4 separate regions of the Homo sapiens genome follow, and regions 1, 3 and 4 are each linked to region 2. Evidence: promoter capture Hi-C in 16 types of primary human blood cells and fetal thymus (Javierre and others, 2016). All regions are on one chromosome and are shown on one strand. The core of a region is centred on a gene start or on the middle of the fragment in contact, and the rest is flanking DNA. Distances in the headings are between cores, read along the strand shown.

Region 1 (3,304 bases), core at 40-2,539, 310 kb after region 2:
ATGAGCTAGGACGACTGCAGTACTCCCTGGATTATGACTTCCAGAGTGGCCAGGTGGGTGTGGAGGAAGGGGAAGCTTTGGAGGGAGGATCCCGGGGGTTCCAACCCCTTCTGAAAGGAGCCATGGAAGGGAGGCTAAGACTAGTGTTCCCCACCTCCCCCACTGTGCCTGGGCCCTGCAGCTGCTGGTGGGCATTCTGCAAGCAATGGGATTGGCAGCCTTGGATCTTGGTGGCTCCTCGGACCCCTATGTGCGGGTCTACCTGCTGCCGGACAAACGGAGGCGGTACGAGACCAAGGTGCATCGGCAGACGCTGAACCCTCACTTTGGGGAGACCTTCGCCTTCAAGGTGAGCTCCTGCCTTCAGGCCCCGTGTTCCATAGCCTGTGCCCAGTCCCTGGAACACTAGGGACCGACCCCTTCCGCTTTTCCTGGAGGCGGCCACAGCTCAGGTGGCAGCTACCAGCTCTGGGGCTATTCCACTGGACCCTGGGCACTACTGACTCCTGGGCTGTAGCCTGGTCCTTGGGCGGTACGATTTGGGTTCCACTGACCCGTGATTTTTTTCCGCATGGATCCCTGGACTTTCCCATTTGAGTTCCCCCAACTGTTCGCTTCGACCCTCGCTGCCTCACTCCATGCCTTCCTTCTGGTTGTGCTGTGCCTCACCCTATCTCTGACTTCCTGCTCTCTACTGCGGATTCTCTGTGCACTCCAGGTCCCCTACGTGGAGCTGGGGGGCAGGGTGCTGGTCATGGCGGTGTACGACTTCGACCGCTTCTCTCGCAATGACGCCATCGGGGAGGTGCGGGTCCCTATGAGCTCCGTGGACCTGGGGCGGCCAGTGCAGGCCTGGCGGGAGCTGCAGGCGGCTCCGCGGGAGGAGGTGAGCATGCGCGGTCGCGCCCCGAGCCACGCCCCCAGGCCCAGTCCCGCCCACAACATCCTGAGCCAATCAGATCATAGGCTTTCCAGACCCTCAGGGCGGCGTGGATTGTACCCCTGAGGAGGCATGGATGTGGAGCCGGGGCTCTGGTGATGGGCCCCTCTCCTTTCAGCAGGAGAAGCTTGGGGACATCTGCTTCTCCCTCCGCTATGTCCCCACGGCCGGGAAGCTCACCGTCATCGTCCTGGAGGCTAAAAACCTGAAGAAGATGGACGTAGGAGGACTGTCAGGTGTGTGGGAAGCAAGGGAGTGGGGTGTGTGGGGATGGCGTGGGGTGGGTTCTCGTTCTGACAGTTTCTGAGCCTCGAGGGTTTCTTCGGGGACAGGGAGGACCTGGCTGCTGTGGAAGGCATGGATTTTGGCATAGAGCTAGGGAGACCCGAAGGGTGTAGGCAGTGTTTCTATGTTGGTCCAACAACCCAGCAGTGGGGAGCTATAAGACTCCTCCTTCCTCTCCCCAGATCCATACGTCAAGGTCCACCTGCTGCAGGGCGGCAAAAAGGTGCGGAAGAAGAAAACCACCATCAAGAAGAACACTCTGAACCCCTATTACAACGAAGCTTTCAGCTTCGAGGTGCCCTGTGACCAAGTCCAGGTGAGCTCAAACCTGCCCTTCTCCAAGAGCCCAGACCTTTAGTAATCGCCATTGCTAGGCGGAGGGAGACTTTTTAGCATCTCCCTAGAAACCAGGTGAGGGGGTCTGAGGTTATGCTCTCAGTCTGTTTCCTCCTATGAGGACCAGGAAGCCTCTTCCACTCCAGGAAGAGACTCCTTAAAATTGGGTGTGGGTGTCCTATCTGCTCTAAGCGGGACCGGGATGTCCCACCCCTAAGCAGTACCAGATGCTCCACCCTAAGCAGGATCAGTATGCCCCGCCCCACCAAGCGGAACCAGGATGCTCCGCCCCCAAGCAGGACCAGGATGCCCCGCCCCCAAGCAGGACCAGGATGCCCCGCCCCCAAGCGGGACCAGGATGCCCCACTCCTAAGCGGGACCAGATTCCCCACCCTAAGCAGGACCAGGATGCCCCGCCCTCCTCAGGAACGTGGTTCTAAGAAAAAGAGACCTCCCCTCACTTCTTTAGGGACGGCGCCTACCCTAGCCCGGCCCCTGTTAAAGTTCTGCAGCTTTGCGGCTCTTAGGAGGCTGCTCCCCCAGGAGGCGCCGAACACACCCGCTCCGCAACCGAGTCCTGAGGGTTCATTTCCTTAGAAACCTGGCTGCGCAGGAAGAAAGGCGCCAGAGCCTCCTCCTCGCCGCAGGCTCCGTCCCTCTCGTCTCCCACCCCCTCCCCCGTCCCGAGCTCCGGGGCCCCGAGCCCTCGGGTGGCAGCGAGAGGTACCCTCAGCCGTGAAAACGGACACCGCCCCTTCCGGGGCCTCCTCCCCTCACGCTCCTCTCTCCTCTTCCTCCCGCGCCCACCCCAGAAGGTGCAGGTGGAGCTGACCGTGCTGGACTACGACAAGCTGGGCAAGAACGAGGCCATCGGGAGGGTGGCCGTGGGGGCGGCCGCCGGCGGGGCTGGCCTGCGGCACTGGGCGGACATGCTGGCCAACCCGCGGCGGCCCATTGCCCAGTGGCACTCGCTGCGGCCCCCGGACCGAGTGAGGCTGCTGCCTGCGCCCTGACTCCCACCCCAAGCCCCCGGCCAAGCCTGGACTCTAGCCCCTGACCCCAGACTCCCGAGACCGGCCAAAGCCAAGCCAGCCCCACCCTTAAGCTTCCTCTGACGGTTACCCTCCCCCCACCTTCCACCCCAACCATCTGAACCATTCCTGTCTTCTCACCCCCAACGATGCCAATCACGACAACTTTCCAGCACACTCCCCCGACCCTCGCGGACACACCCAGATGCCCCAGGGACCCCGGGAAGGGAAGGCAGCCTGGTTTCTCCTGCCCCCGGGTCCTGCCCCCTGCTTTGACAATCAGCCATCCTCGTCTGCTCTCCTCTCTCTTCCAACACAGCCCATCCCTGCACTGCTCCTGGGGCCAAATAAATATTCAGCAGCTCCGGTGGCCTGGGCCCATGCTCCTTGATGGGGGTGGGCAAGGGCTGGGACCCAAGAGGAAACCTCGTTTCCAGGAATGGGCGCTCGCAGGGCGGTGTGAGTGCTGTTCGTCCTGAAAGCCTCTGAGAGACTGGCCTGACCCCATGGACTCCCTCACACTCTCACCCGTTCATTCCTCACTCACCACTCTGAGCCTGGGTTTCCTCCTCTGGAGAATGTTGGGATAATAATAATTCCTGCCACACGCTGGCTGTGAGGAGTCCGCGAGAACTCCCTTGCTTGTCCATGAATTTATCCACTCGCTTGCTCACCCATGACTCACATCGATTTTCATACCCATTTCTGCATC
Region 2 (3,143 bases), core at 388-2,887:
GGCCCGGGGCTCCCCCATGCCCCCAGCCCAGGCCCGAGCCCGGGCCTCCGCGAAGGCCAGCAGCCTCCTGCCCACGCCCCGGCGGCGGTGCCAGCGAGAGACAGACAGGCGGGTGACCCGGGCCCCGTCCCCTGCATTTGTGCCAGGGGCCAGAGCCAGGACCCCACACACGTCACCGGAGCCCCGCACGGCCACCCAGGGGCCCCCCAGGCCACCCGGCGGAGGCAGCGAGCCCCATCGGGCCCGCAGGCCCAGCTTCACGGCGGCCACAGCCAGGAACACCGGCAGGAGGAGGGCCAGGGCGAAGGAAGCCAGGACAAAGCGCAGGCCGCTGCTGGCCGCCGCCAGGAGGAGCAGGGCCGGCGGCCGTGTCAAGGCATGGAGGGCCACGCGGTTTTCCGTGTCCTTCACGCCGGCCTGTGGGCAGGAGGGGTGGCTCAGCCATCCGAAACGCTAGGGCCTCCTGGACAAAGAGAGGAGGTAGACCCTGCCCGGGGCGGGGTGAGAGCTCCCAAATGGGAAGGGAAGGCAGCACAGTCCGATGTTCAGTGTGGCACACTGGGTATGGAGTGAATGAATGAACGAGAGCGAATGATGGATGGATGAGTGAATTAGGAGCTGTGGGGGCACTCAATTCAGTAGCAATGCCGCAGTGAGGCCCCAGGGAAGTAAGGACAGGGAGGTTGCCTCAGGCTGGAGTGGAGGCTGGAGGGAGGCTGCTGGGCTAGGTTGGGGTGCTGGGCTGTGCTTTGAAGAGTTGGGGTCCGAGGCACAGAGCTGGCTGTTGTGCTGGCGTGCACAGCCGACTGGAGATGGGAGACCAGGGAGGGCGTTGGTGCTGGGGTCCCAGTAGGGCTGGGGGGGTGAGCCCCCACCTGCCACACCTGCTGTGGTTTTCAGCAGCAGGGCGGCTGAGGCTCAGGAGGAAAAGATCCCGCTCCAGGGGTCCAGGCTGGCTCAGGTGGGTGGGAGGGGGTGGCTGAATCCACTTGCAATTCCCCCACTGCAGCCACTCCCAGGCCCCCTGGGGCCCCTGCCTCTCACCTTCAGCATCTCCAGCACCAGGGGCTTCTCATCTTCCCTCATCTCCCGCACTGACAGGTGGCTGGGGGCCATGGCAACCCCCAGGCCCCGGCCCCCCAGAAGGGAGCTGGCGTCGTGCACCTGGTGAGAACATAAGTAGGTCAGCGTCAGGGGGGCACCTCTGTCCCCAAAGCTCCCCCGAGGGGTAGGGAGCAGCAACGGCACTTCCCAGATCAGGACACTGAGAACCCTCGGGGCCCCCAAGCGAGGATCTCGGCAGGACAGGCGCCCCCCACAATACTCAGCGACCTTGCTAAAGTCTCCCGGGATCCCCCCTCCCCCGTATTATTCAGCGATCTACACTCCCAAACGCGCTGCGGACGCCAACACTGCAGCACGGGGCTCCCTCCCAGGCACTGGGGTCCACGAACACCCTCCCCACATGCCAGAGAACGGACCACGCTCGCTCCACCCCGGTCCCCAGCGCCCCCTCCCCCACAGTCGTCCCCGTCCCGCGCCACAAGAACAAGGACCAGCAAGCACCTGCACCGGTCGCCTTTGGTCCTTCGACAAGGTTTCGGGAGCGGGTCTGGAAGGGGGTCGCGGGCGGAAGTGACGTCAGACCGCGCGCGGTGGGGCGGGGCGGCGCCCGCTCCGGGCCGTAGCAACCGTTGCTAAGCTCCCCGGAGGGCGGGCTGGGAGGAACCGAGCTGTGACCCTGCGGAGGGCCGGGAAGCGACCTCTCCTATCCCTAGAGAAGGAGCAACGGGGAAAGGGGACCTGGGGAAGAACGGGAGCGGAAGCCGGCAGGAGACGGGCGGCGGGCTGGGGACCAGCGCGAGCTCCCGCCCCACGTTCCCTCGTTGCTGAGCAACCTGAGCGCCGGGCGGCGACGCCAGCGCGTGGATTCTCATCCGTGCCGGGGCCTTCGCGGGAGGAGCCGGCCACGCTCAGCATCCTGGCGCCCGACTCCCCCATCCCCAGGGACCCCACTCCACCCACGGGGCGCCCGGGGTCGCAGAACCCTTCCGCATAAGGATCCCCCTACTTCTCACACGAGGGGGGCAGCGGGGCGACCTACAGTGAACAAGTAGCACTCCCTGGAGTCTGATGTCACCACCTCCCCACTATAATGACCCCTGCGGCCTTTTTTGGTTTCAGGACAGGGGAACTGAGCCCTACGTAGTGGCTGGCCCCAGGATGCAGAACAAGCCATCTGCGACCCAGGACGCAAGACTTAAGACTCCACGCTCCCAGGCGGGGGCTAGGACCATGACTTTGCCCCCTTCCCTCCCCCCAGGAAAACAAAACACAGGCGGGGAGACTCGGGTCTTTATTAGCAAGCCCAGCCTGCGGCACCCTGCCCCGCCCCGGCTGGCAGTGAGTCGGGGTCTCTGTGCGGGGCGGGAGGGGAATCACTGCCTCTCCTCAAAACGTGTGCACCAGCTGGACTGCGGGTAGAGTCTGGACAATCTGGATGGAGGGCAGGCCCTGAGGGGTCATAACACCAGGCCCAGCTCCTGCGGGGACCACTTGCACCATCTGGGAGGCTGGAGCCCCGGGGAGCCCCGCGGGGCCCGAGGCTGGGCCTGACGGCGGTGGGGCCAGGAGCTGCAGCGTGGCGGTGCCTCCTCCAGTGTTGCTGCTGTCCAGCAGCTCAGTGGCTGGGGCGCTGCGGATGATGAGGAGTTTCTGTCCGGGTGGGCCGGTGGCAGGCGGCTCCGTCAGCCCAGGAGGAAGTGTTTCTACCTCCTGTACGCAGAGTCGAGTCTGTTCGCCATCGGCCCCGCTCAGCACCAGCACGCTCTGCAAGCCCTCGTCCGTCTGGAGTGTCTCAAAGAGGACATCCTGGACCACACCAGTGCTGGCCTCGCCATCCCCCGCCTCCCCGGGGCCCGGGCCAGTGAGCAACTCCTCAGCTGCCCCGCTCTGAACAACCAGCAGGTTGGGTGCCTCAGTAGCCACAGCTCCCCCACTGGAATTGGAGAGCTGGCCGGCCACGGGCTGGAGCTGGACCGTGGTCACCTCCTGTGCTGGCTGGAGCTGGACCGTGGTTACTTCCTGTGCTGGCTGGAGCTGGACTGTGGTCACCTCCTGCGCTGGCTGGAGCTGGACCGTGG
Region 3 (3,026 bases), core at 297-2,796, 390 kb after region 2:
TCCTGGGTCTGAGGGAGGAGGGGCTGGGGCCTGGACTCCTGGGTCTGAGGGAGGAGGGGCTGGAGGTCTGGACTCCTGGGTCTGAGGGAGGAGGGGCTGGGGCCTGGACTCCTGGGTCTGAGGGAGGAGGGGCTGGGGCCTGGGCTCCTGGGTCTGAGGGAGGAGGGGCTGGGGCCTGGACTCCTGGGTCTGAGGGAGGAGGGGCTGGAGGTCTGGACTCCTGGGTCTGAGGGAGGAGGGGCTGGGGCCTGGACTCCTGGGTCTGAGGGAGGAGGGGCTGGGGCCTGGGCTCCTGGGTCTGAGGGAGGAGGGGCTGGGGCCTGGACTCCTGGGTCTGAGGGAGGAGGGGCTGGGGTCTGGGCTCCTGGGTCTGAGGGAGGAGGGGCTGGAGGTCTGGACTCCTGGGTCTGAGGGAGGAGGGGCTGGGGCCTGGACTCCTGGGTCTGAGGGAGGAGGGGCTGGGGTCTGGGCTCCTGGGTCTGAGGGAGGAGGGGCTGGGGCCTGGGCTCCTGGGTCTGAGGGAGGAGGGGCTGGGGTCTGGGCTCCTGGGTCTGAGGGAGGAGGGGCTGGGGCCTGGGCTCCTGGGTCTGAGGGAGGAGGGGCTGGGGTCTGGGCTCCTGGGTCTGAGGGAGGAGGGGCTGGAGGTCTGGACTCCTGGGTCTGAGGGAGGAGGGGCTGGGGCCTGGGCTCCTGGGTCTGAGGGAGGAGGGGCTGGAGGTCTGGACTCCTGGGTCTGAGGGAGGAGGGGCTGGGGCCTGGACTCCTGGGTCTGAGGGAGGAGGGGCTGGAGGTCTGGACTCCTGGGTCTGAGGGAGGAGGGGCTGGGGCCTGGACTCCTGGGTCTGAGGGAGGAGGGGCTGGAGGTCTGGACTCCTGGGTCTGAGGGAGGAGGGGCTGGGGTCTGGGCTCCTGGGTCTGAGGGAGGAGGGGCTGGGGCCTGGGCTCCTGGGTCTGAGGGAGGAGGGGCTGGGCCCTGACCCCAGCGTCCCCTGACTGTCCCCTTTCCCTGCCAGGGTGTGACTCTTACAGACCTGAAGGAGGCAGAGAAGGCTGCAGGGAAGGCCCCAGAGTCAGAGAAGCCGGCGCAGAGCCTGGTGAGAGGGGTCAGCGAGGGCGAGTGGGGTGGTGCGGGATGTCCTGCTTCCCTGACTCGCCTCCCCCTCCCGACAGGACCCTTCCCGAAGGCCCCGCGTCCCTGGAGTGGAGAACTCTGACAGCCCTGCCCAGAGAGGTGAGGTCTGCTCTCGGGGAGGTCATTCCCAGGGAATCATCCAGTTTCTCCCATAGTCTTCTTGCTTTCCTGGGGGCTTGACCCGGGGACCCAGGCACCGAGAGGGGGCTCTGGAGGTGCCTGGGCTGATTCCTGCCCCTCCCCCAGCAGAGGCGCCCGACGGGCAGGGTCCGGGACCGCAGGCGGCCAGGGAGCACCGCAAGGTCGGAAAGGAGTGGAGGGGGCCTGCGGAGGTGAGGGGCTCAGGTGGGGCCGAGCTGGTGCAGAGGGTGGGCCGGGGGGCGGGCAAAGCCCTTCCCATACCCGCTAAAGTCCCTCCCATACCCATTGAACCCCCGTCTACCTGCCCACAGGGGGAGGAGGCGGAGCCGGCTGACCGCAGCCAGGAGTCCAGGTAGGGGCGGGGTGGGAGAGGTGGGGTCTGCGTGCGGGCCGGGCCGGCCCCTGACGCGCGCTCCTCCCCTGCCCCAGCACCCTGGAGGGCGGCCCCTCGGCCCGCAGGCAGCGGTGGCAGCGGGACCTCAACCCAGAACCTGAGCCAGAATCGGAAGAGCCAGACGGAGGCTTTAGGACGGTGCGATCCCACCCCTCCGTCGGGGCTTTGCCTGCTGGGTGCCCAGCTTCCTGGCTTCCCCGCCCCCCCAGCATCGCCCCATCCTCCACCTGACCCTCCTCTACCTGACCCCCAGCTGTATGCAGAGCTGCGCAGGGAGAACGAGCGGCTTCGCGAGGCCCTGACCGAGACCACGCTGCGGCTGGCGCAGCTCAAGGTGGAGCTGGAGCGGGCCACGCAGGTAAGGGCGCCGAGGCCAGGGTCACGGGAACTGGCAGGGCCGCCTGGGTGGGGCTTAGACTGCTGGGAGGTAGAGCCTGGCCTGGGGGTGCCGGCGGGGCTGGGCTTCACTTGAGGGGCGGGGCCGAGATCTCGGAGGCGGAGTCTGAGCGAGGGGATGGGGCTGTGGGCCTGCCGGTGGCGGGGCCTGGCCCGTGGGGGAAGGGCTTGTGGGCTGCCTAGTGGGCGGGCGGGTGCCCAGCAGGAGCCTAGGACCCTTCAGAGCAGTGCTGGCTTCTTCTGCTGACCCCTGTGCTTTCTGTGTCCTCACCAGAGGCAAGAACGCTTCGCTGAGAGGCCAGCCCTCCTGGAACTGGAGAGATTCGTGAGTAGGGGCAGTGGGGATGGGGGCCAGAGGCGTCCCCAGCCTCACATCCCTAAGTTTGGACCAAGGGAGCCACATTGCCCTTCCCAGCTGGCCCCTGGCCTTCCCCTGCCCTCCTCAGCCTCACTCAGTTTCTGCACTTTCCCTGTTCATTCCAGGAGCGCAGGGCCCTGGAACGCAAGGCCGCAGAGCTGGAGGAGGAGCTGAAGGTGGGGGCTGTGGGGGCTGTGGGCAGAGGGCCGAGGGTGGGTGGGGGTGCAACCCGCCAGGGCTGCCCAGCTGACCCTTGCCGTCCCCCAGGCCCTGTCTGACCTCCGCGCTGACAACCAGCGCCTCAAGGATGAGAATGCAGCGTTGATCCGCGTCATCAGCAAACTCTCCAAGTGACCCGGAGGGACTTTCCCGCACCCGTATTTATACAGCTGCTTCTGCCACACGCACCCCTTCCCCCGTGTGAACACGAGTGACAGGGCTCCGGGGGAAGTCTCAGAGAAGCCATAGCCCCCCTGGGACCTCCGGACTGGGAGGGGAGCAGAGTCCCCAGGAGCCGAGGGGGCCACCCGAGGCCAGGATGGAGGTGGGAGGCCGAGCCAAGCAGGGGGACGTTGCCAGAGGGGACCAGGGCCAGAGACGGGACC
Region 4 (3,256 bases), core at 523-3,022, 290 kb after region 2:
GGCCTGGGCAAGAAGAGCAAAACTCCGTCTCAAAAAACAAACCAAGAAAAAAAAAAAAGACACCACCAGATCTGGGTAGGCTCCGCTGCCGGGGAGTCCTTCCCCAGCCAGCAGGACCTCTGAGAAGATGAAGCCTCAATCTGGGGAGAACAGAAGCCGTCCATGCCAGGGATGATTTCACAACCAGCAAAGTGTTTCCCCCGCCTCGGCACTACAGACGTTTCCGGCTAGATCCTTCTTTGTTGTGGGGGGGCCGTCCTGCGCATTGTAGGATATTGAGCTGCACCTCTGCTTCCCACCCACTATGTGCCAGCAGCACTCCCACTTCCAAGCTGTGACAACCAAAAGCGTCTCCAGACATTGCCCGGTGTCTCTTTGGGAGCAAAATCACCCTTGTTGAGAACCACTAGTCTAAGCTAAGGAAGGCAAGAATCACTTTTTTGTTTTGTTTCGTTTTGTTCTTTTTTGAGACAGGGTCTCACTCTGTTGCCCAGGCTGGAGTGCAGTGATACGATCATGCCCACCACAGCCTCCACCTCCCAGGCTCAAGTGATCCTCCTGCCTCAGTCCCCTGAGTAGCTGGGACTACAGGCATGTACTACCATGCCCAGCTATTTTGTTGGGGTTCTTTTTGTTTTGTTTTGCTTTCTTTTTCTTTTTTTTTTTTTTGAGACAGAGTCTCACTCTATCACCCAGTCTGGAGTGCAGTCGTGCAATCTCAGCTCACTGCAGCCTCCACCTCCCGGGTTCAAGTGACTCTTATGCTCAGCCTCCTGAGTAGTTGGGATGACAGGTGTGCACCACCATACCCAGCTAACTTTTGTTTTTTTAGTAGAGACTGGGTTTTGTTATGTTGCCCAGGCTGGTCTCAAACTCCTGGGCTCAAGTGATCCACCCACCTCAGCCTCCCAAAGTGTTGGGATTACAGGGGTGAGCCACCATGCCTGGCCAGGAGTCACTCTTCAGCAACCAGGTCACCTGTGAAAATGATGGATAGTTGACCCTTGAACAATTGTCCCCTACACAGTAGAAAATCTGCATATAACAGCCGGGCATGGTGGCTCATGCCTATAATCCCAGCACTTTGGGAGGCTGAGGCAGGTGGATCACGAGGTCAGGAGATCAGGACCACCCTGGCTAACACGGTGAAACCCCAACTCTACTAAAAATACAAAAAATTAGCCAGGAGTGGTGGCGGGCACCGGTAGTCCCAGCTACTCAGGAGGCTGAGGCAGGAGAATGGCGTGAACCCGGGAGGCAGAGGTTGCAGTGAGCCGAGGTCGCACCACTGCACTGCAGCCTGGGTGACAGAGCAAGACTCTGTCTCAGAAAAAGAAAAAGAAAAAAAAATCTGCACATAACTTTTGACTCCCCCAAAACTTAACTACTAATAGCCTACTCTTGATTGGAAGCCTTACCAATAACATAAACAACATACATTTCATCTGTAATATGTACTACATACTGTATTCTTTTTGTTTGTTTGTTTGTTTTTGAGACAGAGTCTTGCTCTGTTACCCAGGCTGGAGTGCAGTAGTGTGATCTGGGCTCACTGCAAGCTCCACCTCCCGGGTTCACGCCATTCTCCTGCCTCAGCCTCCCGAGTAGCTGGGACTACAGGCGCCCACCACCACGCCCTGCTAATTTTTTGTATTTTTAGTGGAGATGGGGTTTCACCGTGTTAACCAGGATGGTCTCGATCTCCTGACCTCGTGATGTGCCCATCTCCGCCTCCCAAAGTGCTGGGATTACAGGCGTAAGCCACCGCGCCCGGCCGTACTATATGCTGTATTCTTATAATCAAGTAGCTAAAGAAAAAAATGTTACTAAGAATATCCTAAGGAAGAGAAAATGTACTCGCTATTTATTAAGTAGATCATCATAAAGGTCTTCCTCCTTGTAGTCTTCGCGTTGAGTAGGCGGAGGAGGAGGAGGAGGTAGGAGAGGGGCTGGTCTTGCTGTCTCAGGGGTGGAGGAAAATCCATGGGTAAGCGCGTAAGTATAACTGGACCGACGCAATTCACACCGTGTGATGTTCGGGGGTCAGCTGTCTTTGGACCAGGCTCCTGGGGAAGAGGAAAGGCTGGGCAGGGTTGGAGACAGATGAGCAGCTCAGACCTGCGCTCTGAGGGTTCCCGATGCCTCCTCCCCACAGGGGTCATTGCCGGAGCCTTTGTGGGCATCCTCCTGTTTCTCATCCTCGTGGGCCTGCTGATTTTCTTCCTGAAGAGGAGGTGAGACTCAGCACAGGGCTGACCGCCTGGAGGGTGGGGGCTGGAGAAGAAGGAGGAGGACCGCTGGTTGCAGCCTCACCCCCTGAGCCTCTCATCCTAACGTCCTTTTCCCAGGAATAAGAAGAAGCAGCAGAAACCAGAACTCAGGGATCTGGTCTTTAGGTGAGCAGAAGGTCTGGGGGGTGCATTGGAAAGAATCTGGTCAAATCAAGGGGTGTTTGCTGGCTGCCAGCTAGGTCAGAGGGTGGATCAATGCATTTACCCACAAAGGTCTCAGAAGGGGCCCATGCCTCTGCGACAGGGACCACGGCCCTTCCATCGTGACTCACTCCCCAAGCAGCCTGGGCCAGCGAATTCAGTTCTGGTCTCAACTCCCGGACATTCATTCATTCAGCAGATATCAGCTGAGCACCAGCATGTATCAGGCACTGTTCCAGGTGCCAAACAAACAGCAAATGAAACCAAGATTCTTGCCCGCCAGGGGCTTATATTCTAGTACAGGAGATATCAATAAACAAGATTGCTGGGTGCGGTGGCTCATGCCTGTAATCCCAGCACTTTGGGAAGCTGAGGCAGGCAGACCACAAGGTCAGGAGATCAAGACCATCCTGGCTAACGTGGTGAAACCCTGTCTCCACTAAAAAATACAAAAAATTAGCCAGGCTTGGTGGCGGGCACCTATAGTCCCAGCTACTTGGGAGGCTGAGGCAGGAGAATGGCGTGAACCTGGGAGGTAGAGCTTGCAGTGAGTTGAGATCACGCCACTGCACTGCAGCCTGGGTGACAGATCGAGACTCCGTCTCAAAAAAATAATAGTAATAAAAAATTAAAAAAGATCATAAAAAATATGATATAAACTTTCAGACAGGGCCAGGCATGGTGGCTCACGCCTGTAATCCCAGCTACGCAGGTGGCTGGGGCAGGAGAATCACTTGAACCCGGGAGCAGAGGTTGCAGTGAGCTGAGATTGCACCATTGCACTCCAGCCTGGGCAACAGAGTGAGACTCTGTCTCAAAAAAAA

The links. The method cuts DNA at HindIII sites, captures the fragments that hold promoters and counts their contacts. A CHiCAGO score of 5 or more calls a contact.
Region 1: a fragment that was not itself captured here is called in contact with the fragment with the promoter of NAT14 in region 2 in 12 of 17 cell types (total CD4 T cells, activated CD4 T cells, total CD8 T cells and 9 more); the score reaches 12.4 in total CD4 T cells.
Region 3: a fragment that was not itself captured here is called in contact with the fragment with the promoter of NAT14 in region 2 in 3 of 17 cell types (naive CD4 T cells, non-activated CD4 T cells and total CD8 T cells); the score reaches 11.3 in naive CD4 T cells.
Region 4: a contact is called between a fragment that was not itself captured here and the fragment with the promoter of NAT14 in region 2, in 4 of 17 cell types (M0 macrophages, M2 macrophages, naive CD4 T cells and 1 more). The highest score is 6.5, in M0 macrophages.

The regions. Positions count from the first base shown.
Region 1 is chr19:55,172,754-55,176,057 of GRCh38, reverse strand. It overlaps SYT5 (synaptotagmin 5), which reads left to right. Exons shown (of 9, transcript NM_003180.3): 4 at 1-53; 5 at 182-349; 6 at 719-886; 7 at 1,059-1,176; 8 at 1,408-1,541; 9 at 2,374-3,304. The coding sequence ends at 2,574. Among named protein-coding and RNA genes, the nearest start is that of SYT5, 5.9 kb to the left of the region's middle. The HindIII fragment of the contact is 439 bases long and covers 1,070-1,508 here.
Region 2 is chr19:55,483,682-55,486,824 of GRCh38, reverse strand. It overlaps NAT14 (N-acetyltransferase 14 (putative)), which reads right to left and starts at 1,637. Exons shown (of 3, transcript NM_020378.4): 1 at 1,567-1,637; 2 at 1,045-1,164; 3 at 1-417. The coding sequence starts at 1,116. It overlaps ZNF628 (zinc finger protein 628), which reads right to left. Exons shown (of 3, transcript NM_033113.3): 3 at 2,338-3,143. The coding sequence ends at 2,452. RefSeq lists an enhancer at 998-1,327 and a silencer at 1,428-1,847. The HindIII fragment of the contact is 21,455 bases long and covers 1-3,143 here.
Region 3 is chr19:55,091,221-55,094,246 of GRCh38, reverse strand. It overlaps PPP1R12C (protein phosphatase 1 regulatory subunit 12C), which reads left to right. Exons shown (of 22, transcript NM_017607.4): 14 at 1,014-1,094; 15 at 1,171-1,231; 16 at 1,379-1,464; 17 at 1,585-1,625; 18 at 1,703-1,805; 19 at 1,921-2,025; 20 at 2,338-2,388; 21 at 2,547-2,597; 22 at 2,689-3,026. The coding sequence ends at 2,775. Among named protein-coding and RNA genes, the nearest start is that of EPS8L1, 17 kb to the right of the region's middle. The HindIII fragment of the contact is 7,228 bases long and covers 1-3,026 here.
Region 4 is chr19:55,190,641-55,193,896 of GRCh38, reverse strand. PTPRH (protein tyrosine phosphatase receptor type H) reads left to right here. Exons shown (of 20, transcript NM_002842.5): 11 at 2,156-2,234; 12 at 2,349-2,396. Among named protein-coding and RNA genes, the nearest start is that of SYT5, 12 kb to the right of the region's middle. The HindIII fragment of the contact is 4,918 bases long and covers 1-3,256 here.